Linked DNA regions of Homo sapiens: region 2 is linked to region 1. Evidence: promoter capture Hi-C in human tissues and cell types (Jung and others, 2019). All regions are on one chromosome and are shown on one strand. The core of a region is centred on a gene start or on the middle of the fragment in contact, and the rest is flanking DNA. Distances in the headings are between cores, read along the strand shown.

Region 1 (4,161 bases), core at 1,587-4,086:
AATAATGTCTTCACCAGCACCACAGAAATTCTGTAGAAACTTCTCCTTACCCTGGGATATTATTTGTTGATACTGATTTCAATACTCTTACCTCACTGAGTATAGGCCAGAACGCAGAGCCTGCCTTTAAAATGTTAAGGTTGGCCTGGCGTGGTGGCTCATGCCTGTAATCCCAGCACTTTGGGAGGCTGAGGTGGGTAGATCGTGAGGTCAGGAGTTCAAGACCAGCCTGGCCAAGATGGTGATGGGTATGGTGGCGGGTGCCTGTAATCCCAGCTACTTGGGAGGCTGAGGCGGAGAATTGCTTGAACCCGAGAGGTGGAGGTTGCAGTGAGCCAAGATCGCGCCACTGCACTCCAGCTTGGGCGACAGAGTGAGACTCCATCTCAAAAAAGAAAAAAAAAATTGGTAAGGTTGGCATTGTCTAAGTTGTGCCTCTTTTCTCGAGTCCTGACACCACGGACCTCATGCTGCTGTCTAGCTGACCCTAACCTCCTTTTCCTTCTGTAATCCGTAATTCTCTGAAGTATGTGCTTTAAAATGCTTTCAGTGCCCCGATACTTCAAAGTGATTTCTTTTCTTATTTCACCATCACATAGCTGAATCTCCTATCACCTACCTTGAGTGATTTCTGCTAGGTACTACAGGTGAGACTGCATTGTAACCAGTGAAATTAAAGAAATTCATGCAGGCTGGGCGCGATGGCTCACACCTGTAATCCCAGCACTTTGGGAGGCCGAGGTGGGTGGATCACCTGAGGTCAGGAGTTCGAGACCAGCCTGGCCAACATCGTGAAACCCCATTTCTACTAAAAATACAAAAATTAGTCGGGCGTCGTGGCACATGCCTGTAATTCCAGCTACTTGGGAGGCAGAGACAGGAGAATTGCTTGACCCAGGAGGCAGAGGTTGCAGTGAGCTGAGATCACGCCACTGCACTCTAGCTTGAGTGATAGACTGTCTCATAAAAAAAAAAAAATTCATGCTAAGGTGTGAACCGAATGTCAAAATGCTTCCCACCCCTTCCTCTCCCTTACTCCCACACAGGCAGACTGGTCACTCTCCTGAAGACACCCACCGTTTACATAAGTGAATGAATAAATACCTGACATCCAGAAATGTGACTAGGTAATTAGTAGAAGGTGAGGCACAGTGAAGAGGCGGAAAATTCTGGGCAGTGGGTGGGGTGGGAAGCCTGGGTGCTGTCAATCACACCGCCTGCACTAAAGCTTCTTCATATCAGTCTCACCCACTTGCAACCGTCCAGGGAGAATATTGTGCCAATTTCAAAGACACTGCTTCTGGGGTGGGCTCTAGGAGGTGGTAAAGGGTATAAAACAACCCAAAGTGCAGGGCTCTTTTATGTTGGGTGTCTGAAGTGCTCAGAACACTTTATAATTTTGATCCCCTTGAATGTAGCTAGAAAATTAAATCCCTTTATAATTAAAGCCAATAATGAATGGGCATTAAAGTTATCCAATCTATACACTGCATTAGTTTTTAATCTGCGGTTGGGCTGTAGCGTTTACTTCTTGATCTTTTCTATCTCTAATCTGGTTATAACTGCCTGTCATTTTTACTTTTCCTGGGAGGGGCAGAGTCTCTCTCTCTCTTCTCTTTTCCTCTGAGGTGTGCGTCGTGTTTATTTTTGCCTGAGCTGATGGATAATTTCCGAGATTTAATCCCTTTCTCTGGTTTCCTGACATTTCCACTTAGAGTTACTCTTGTGTTTATGGCCAGAATGAAAGGCATGTTTACTAGTGTTTTGAAGTTTCAAAAGTGGGTCTGGCGTTCTTGCTGACTGCTGCGGGTACTGCTGGACAAGGCCGTGCTGAGAAGGCCAGCGCGCCCGGCGGCAAGGAGCGACCTGCCCGGGTCTGGGGCCCCCAGCCGCCCCCCGCGGCGAGTGGGAGGCAGCAGGAGGCGGGCTGGATTCCGCCCTCGGGGAGGGCCGGGGGTCCTGGGACCAGAGCCAGGCCTCCTGCCCTCGACGTCCTGCCGGTTGTGAGCCAGAGCCTCGGTACCCCCACCCCCTGCAACGGCCTGCTTCGTGGGATCTGAAGCTGGGCCGCCCCCTGGGCAGGGCAGGGATCGGTGAGGCAAGGAGCTGAGGAGCGCTGGCAGGTAAGGGGGAAGTCTGGAGCCGGGTTGGAGGTGAGCGGGCGTTGAGGGGTGGGACAGAGGGAGTGGAGACGGGGCTGGGGGCGAGCCAGTGAACTGGGGGTGGCACAGAGGAGGTGGGAGCAGAGATGGGGGTGATCCGGAAGCCTGGGGTGGGGGGTGAGTGGGTTCGGAGCTGAGGGTGAGCCAGTGAGCTGAGGGTGGCACAGAGGGCGTGGGGGCGGAACTGGGGGTGAGCCGGGAAGCTGGGGGTTGGCACAGAGGAGGTGGGGACAGAGATGCGGGTGAGCCGGGAAGCTGGGGTTCGGGGTGGCGCGGGTGAGAGGGTTCGGAGCTAGGGGTGAGCCGGGAAGCTGGGAGGTGGTTCAGAGGAGGTGGGGACAGAGATGGGGGTGAACCGGGAAGCTGCGGGTCGCGGGGGGCTTAGTAGGTTCGGAGCTAGGGAGTGGCACAGAAGGGTTCGTGACGGGGCTGGAGGTGAGTCGGGGGGTTAGAGGGTAGTCACGCGGAGTTGGAGATGAATTAGGGCGCTGGAGGGGCGCGAGGGAGGAGGAGACCCGGGTGGAGGCGAGCCCGGCTGCTGGACGCGGACGCCACCCGGACCCGGGGCCCGCGCAGGGGCCTCGAGGAGAGGGGGCGGGGCCGGGGGGGCGTGGCGCGGGAGGGGAAGTGGGCGGGGCACCGCCGGGAAGGGGGCGGGCCGGGGGAAAGCCTTGGTTCGCTGCAGCGGGGCAGGCGCGTGGCCGGGCCGCGGCGCGATGAGTGGGGCCCGGGCGGCGCCCGGGGCCGCGGGCAACGGCGCGGTCCGGGGGCTGCGGGTGGACGGGCTGCCCCCGCTGCCAAAGAGCTTGAGCGGGCTGCTGCACTCGGCGTCGGGCGGCGGCGCGTCTGGGGGCTGGCGGCACCTGGAGCGGCTGTACGCGCAGAAGTCGCGCATCCAGGACGAGCTGAGCCGCGGGGGCCCGGGCGGCGGCGGGGCCCGGGCGGCAGCGCTGCCCGCCAAGCCTCCCAACCTGGACGCCGCTCTGGCGCTGCTCCGCAAAGAGATGGTGAGTGGGGCTCCGCGAGCTGGGGCTCTTCCCGGCCGGGCTCGCCGTCCCGGGAAAGTTCGCGGGGACCGCGCTCTGTCCGGAAGTCCCCGCGCCCACCCGCCCTTTCGGGCTCCTCCGCCCCAGGCGCCGGCGCCGTCCTCCCAACGACCCCCATTTTTCTCGCGTGCTCCGTGCCCACGATTGGAACCCCCGCGGGAGAGCCCCGCGCGCAGAGGGCGGCTTTCTTATGCCCGGCGCCCTCAGTCCGGCCCCGCTGGCTCGGAAACCTGGGCGCCCGGAAGCGCTGTGCGGGGTTCGTGCCTGGCCTGGGGGCGGGGGCGGCCTTGTCACCTCTCCCCGAGTGAAACAGACCTTCCCGGTGGGGGAAAGGCTTTCACAGCGGCCCAACGGATTAACGCGATTGCGTTTTCCTACCACGAAGAGGACAACTTTTGTCCGCCGCCAGTGTAGACAGCAGATTGGAACAGCCCGGCCCCCTTTCCGGCGCCCCAGGCCGCGCGTCCGTGATCCGATTACCGCGGGATGGCCCCGGCGCACAGATGGCTGCGAAAGCAGACGCGCACCCCGGGCGAGGGAGGCGGCCGGGTCCCTCAGCCCCGCGAAGCTGATTGCCCAAACCCTCTTGAGAAAGGTGGGAGGTGGCTGTCCTCCCGGTCTGGGTGCTGTCCATGTGAGTTCTTCGCCTTGTGTCTAAGCTCCATACCATGGGCTCAGTGTTTCTCTGTGCTTGGGAAGTACATTAGCTGTTTGTGGACCAGAACACACATGATTTAGGGTGACGCTAAAAGTAGGACAAGGGCAGGGATTTAGGCAACAGCGAGTCTTTCCCCAGCTTTCTCGGCCAGGCGTAGGCCAGGCAAGAAGAAATCAAAAACTTTTCCTCTTTTCTACCATCTTACTGGCCCCCATCACCTCCTCCCAATCCCCTCGTTTTAAAAGCCTCCCTTTCCATTCACCTCGTCCAGGTTGTCTCCTTTCCCTATAGGTAA
Region 2 (4,066 bases), core at 770-3,269, 47 kb before region 1:
TGAGTTACTTTTGATGAGATGTATTTTTTTTGGCATGTATCCATTTCATCTAAGGTTTCAAATGTATTAGCATGAAATTATTCATATCTTATTTTATTTTTGAGATGGAGTCTTGCTCTGTCACCCAGGCTGGAGTGCAGTGGTACGATTGCAGCTTACTGCAACCTCCACCTCCCAGGTTCAAGCAATTCTCCTGCCTCAGCCTCCTGAGTAGCTGGGACTACAGGTGCCCGCTACCATGCCCAGCTAATTTTTGTATTTTTAGTAGAGACGGGGTTTTGCCATGTTGGCCAGGCTGGCCTTGAACTTCTGACCTCAGGTGATCCACCTGCCTCGGCCTCCCAAAGTGCTGGGATTACAGACGTGAGCCACTGCGCCCAGCCTTCATATCATATTTTAAATCTCTGTTGCATTTATTGTCATAGCCTTCTTTTATTATTAATCTTATTTATTTGTGCTTTCTTCCTTGTTTCCTTGATAAATCTTGCCAGAGTTTGAGCTATTTTAATAGTATTTTAAGGAACCAATATTTAGCCTTATGATCTTTCTACTGTATGATTGTTATATATTTTTAAAATTTTTGCCACCTTTACTATTTCTTTTCTTTTTGTTTTACTCTACTTTTTTTAAACTTCTTAATTTAGATGTTTAGCTCATTTAATCTGAGCTTCTGTTCTATTCTTAGGTAAGCATTTAAGACAGTAAATGTCCTTCAAAGTTTTGTTTTTGCCACTCTAAAAATTTGTATATGTGTTACATTTGCTATGGCTCAGTCCTAAGTTTTAAAAATTTCCATTGTGGCAGCTTTCTTTGCCTCTGAGCTATGTAGAAGTGTGTTTTTTGATATCCTTTATGTGCTGGAGATTTTTCTTGGTGTCTTTTTTTGTCATGGATTTAATTGTATTGTTGCCAGATGTGATCTGTATGATTCCAGTCATTTGAAATTTGTTGAAGTTTGCTCTATGATCTAGCCTATGGCTAGTTTTTAAAAATATTACATGTGGTTGAAAATAATATATATTCTCTAATTTTTAGAGGCAATGTTCTTCATAAATTCATCAACTAACCCGATATATTAATATGCCCTTCAAATCTTCTATATCCTTAAAGATTTTTTTGGCCTGCTTGTTCTATCAATTACAAAGAGAAGTATAGCATAATTTCCACTATTGATGGTAGATTTGAAATTTTCTGCTCATTCCTCTGTTAATTATTGCTTTACATTTATATATACATATATATTTTAGAGACGGAGTCTCAGTATGTTGCTCAGACTGGTATTGAACTCCCGGGCTCAAGCAATCCTTCCACCTCAGCCTTCCAAAGTGCTGAGATTACAGGTGTGAGCCACCATGCTGGGCCTTCTAAAATATATAATTAAAACTAATTTCACCTGTGTCTTCTTTTAAAATGTGGTTACTAGAATCCTTCCTTCCTTCCTTTCCTTCCTTCCTTCCTTCCCTTCCTTCCTTCCTTCCTTCCTTCCTTCCTTCCTTCCTTCCTTCCTTCCTTCCTTCCTTCCTTCCCTCCTTTTCTCTCTCTCTCTCTCTCTTTCTCTTTCCTTCCTTCTTTGTTTTTTTTTTTTGACAGAGTCTCACTCTGTCGCCCAGGCGGGAATGCAGTGGTGCGATCTCAGCTCACTGCAGGCTCGACGCCCCTGGACTCAGGTGATCCTTCCACCTCAGCCTCCCAAATAACTGGAACTATAGGTGCATGCCACCATGCCCAGCTAATTTTTTTTTTTTTTGTATTTTTGGTAAGAGGCAGGGTTTTGCCATGTTGCCCAGGCTGGTCTCAAACTCCTGGTCTCAAGCGATCCACCTGTCTCAGCCTCCCAAAGTGCTAGGATTACAGGTGTGAGCCACCATACCCAGCCAGAAATCTTAAAATTACATATGCATCTTGCATTCGTTGTGTGTGTTTATATATAAATATATATATATCTATATATATAATCTAGCATTTTGTTTCTGTTGGACAGCACTGGTTTAGAGATTACATTGAATATTTTATTACAATATTTAACTTAAAGTGTAAAGTGAACAAAAATCTTTACTTCTTCCTGAACAGTAGAAATATCAGAATGATTTAATGAAGCTCAGGGTGGTCTCAAACTCCTAGCTCAAGCGATTCTCCCACCTTGGCCTCCCAAAGTTCTGGAATTACAGGGATGAGCTGCCACGTCTGTCAGATAAGCTATGATTTTAAAAAATTTGGTGGATGTGACAGGGTATCTCCATAGATGCAAAAAAATTGATAATATTAATATCATCCATTATTTTTAAAATAATTATTAGCAAGCTAGGAGTAAAAGAGACTTCCTTAGCTGATTTTTAAAAAGCATCTGCAAAACACTTACAGCAAACACAATACTTAAAGGTGAAATATTGAACTCATCTTGTTAAGATCAGGAAAAAAGTCACAGCACAATTGATTTCACTTCTTTGCCAGTGCAGTAAAACAAGGGGGAAAATACGGATTGGAAAGGGAGAAACAAAACTGTTATTACTTGAGCATGATATCATTGCCTATGTAGAAAACCCCAAAGAATCTACAGGTACATTATCAAAATTAATAAGAGATTTGGCCGGGCACGGTGCCTCATGCCTGTAATCCCAGCACTTTGGGAGGCCGAGGCGGGTGGATCACCTGAGGTTGGGAGCTCAAGACCAGCCTGACCAACATGGAGAAACCCCGTCTCTACTAAAAATACAAAATTAGCTGGGCGTGGTGACACATGCCTGTAATCCCAGCTACATGGGAGGCTGAGGCAGGAGAATCGCTTGAACCTGGGAGGCAGAGGTTGCAGTGAGCCAACATGGCGCCATTGCACTCCAGCCTGGGCAACAAGACCGAAACTCCATCTCAAAAAAAAAAAAAAAAAAAAAAAAGAGAGATTTTAGTTCAGGTGCAGTGGCTCATTCCTATAATTCCAGCACTTTGGGAGGCTGAGGCAAGAGGATCATCTGAGGCCAGGAGTTTGAAACCAGCCTGGGCAATATAGTGAGAACTCAGCTCTACAAAACAACAAAAATTAGCTGGATATGGTGGCACACACATGTAGTTCTAGCTACTCGGGAGGCTGATGAGGAAGGAGATCCCTTGAGCCCAGGACCTCAAGGTTACAGTGAGCTACAATCCACCCTGGGAGACAGTGTGAGACCCCCATTGCAAAACAAAAACCCAGAAACTATATGGCTAAATACAAAATCAATATTTTGACTGCATTTCAATTGCATTTCTACATACCTACTTTAATCAGTTATAAAAGGTAATTTTAAAAAAGATTTGTACTAGCAACAGAAAGGTAAAATGCCTAGGAACAAATCTAATATTCAAGTCCCCTTTATGGAGACAAAGGATAAAACTTTAACGAAAATCATGAAAGATCACCTAAGCAAATGAAAAATATGCCATATTCCTAAATAGGTAGGCTCAATATCTTAAAATGTAATTTCTCTTCCAATCTGTATTTTAATGCAATTCCAATGAAAATTCCCACACAGTTGTTTTCTTTGCTGCTGTTGCTTTTTCTCCATCTTCTTTTTTTGCCATTTTTTCCTCCTCGTCCTCTTCCTCCTTCTTCTTTTTAAATAAAATCTAAAAGCCTTTTCCTGAAATTTATAAGGATGAAAAAAGGGTCAAGAATAGTCATGACACTCCTTAAAAGAACAAGGTAGAGAGACCTGCCTATGAAATATAATAAGTAAGCTATAATTTTCCAAGCTATAATAAAGACAGTGTAGTACTGGCACAAGATATACCCACTGAACAATAAACACAATGGAGGACCTAGGAATAGGCCCATGTATATGTATATTTCATTTAGGACAAATGTAGCATTTCAGATGAGTGGGGGAAATGATGAAATCAAATCCCTGCATTACATTGTATACAAATATCAATTCCAGATAAAGTCTAAAATGTGAAAGACAACACTATAAAATTTCTACAAGACAATATTTAAAACAAAAGGATGTTTTAAATGAGACACAAAGAATATAAATCATAAGGGGAAGATCAACACACTTTATATTAAAAGTAAGAACTTCTGTTCATCAAGACA

Evidence for each region. Contacts are between HindIII fragments. The study calls those that stand out against the background at their distance.
Region 2: a fragment that was not itself captured here is called in contact with the fragment with the promoter of FAM89A in region 1 in 1 of the 25 tissues and cell types used here (bladder).

The regions. Positions count from the first base shown.
Region 1 is chr1:231,038,929-231,043,089 of GRCh38, reverse strand. FAM89A (family with sequence similarity 89 member A) reads left to right here and starts at 2,836. Exons shown (of 2, transcript NM_198552.3): 1 at 2,836-3,169. The coding sequence starts at 2,879. RefSeq lists silencers at 2,675-2,784, 3,045-3,094, 3,735-3,814 and an enhancer at 3,477-4,158. The HindIII fragment of the contact is 5,242 bases long and covers 1-4,161 here.
Region 2 is chr1:231,085,423-231,089,488 of GRCh38, reverse strand. No RefSeq gene overlaps it. Among named protein-coding and RNA genes, the nearest start is that of FAM89A, 47 kb to the right of the region's middle. The HindIII fragment of the contact is 5,041 bases long and covers 1-4,066 here.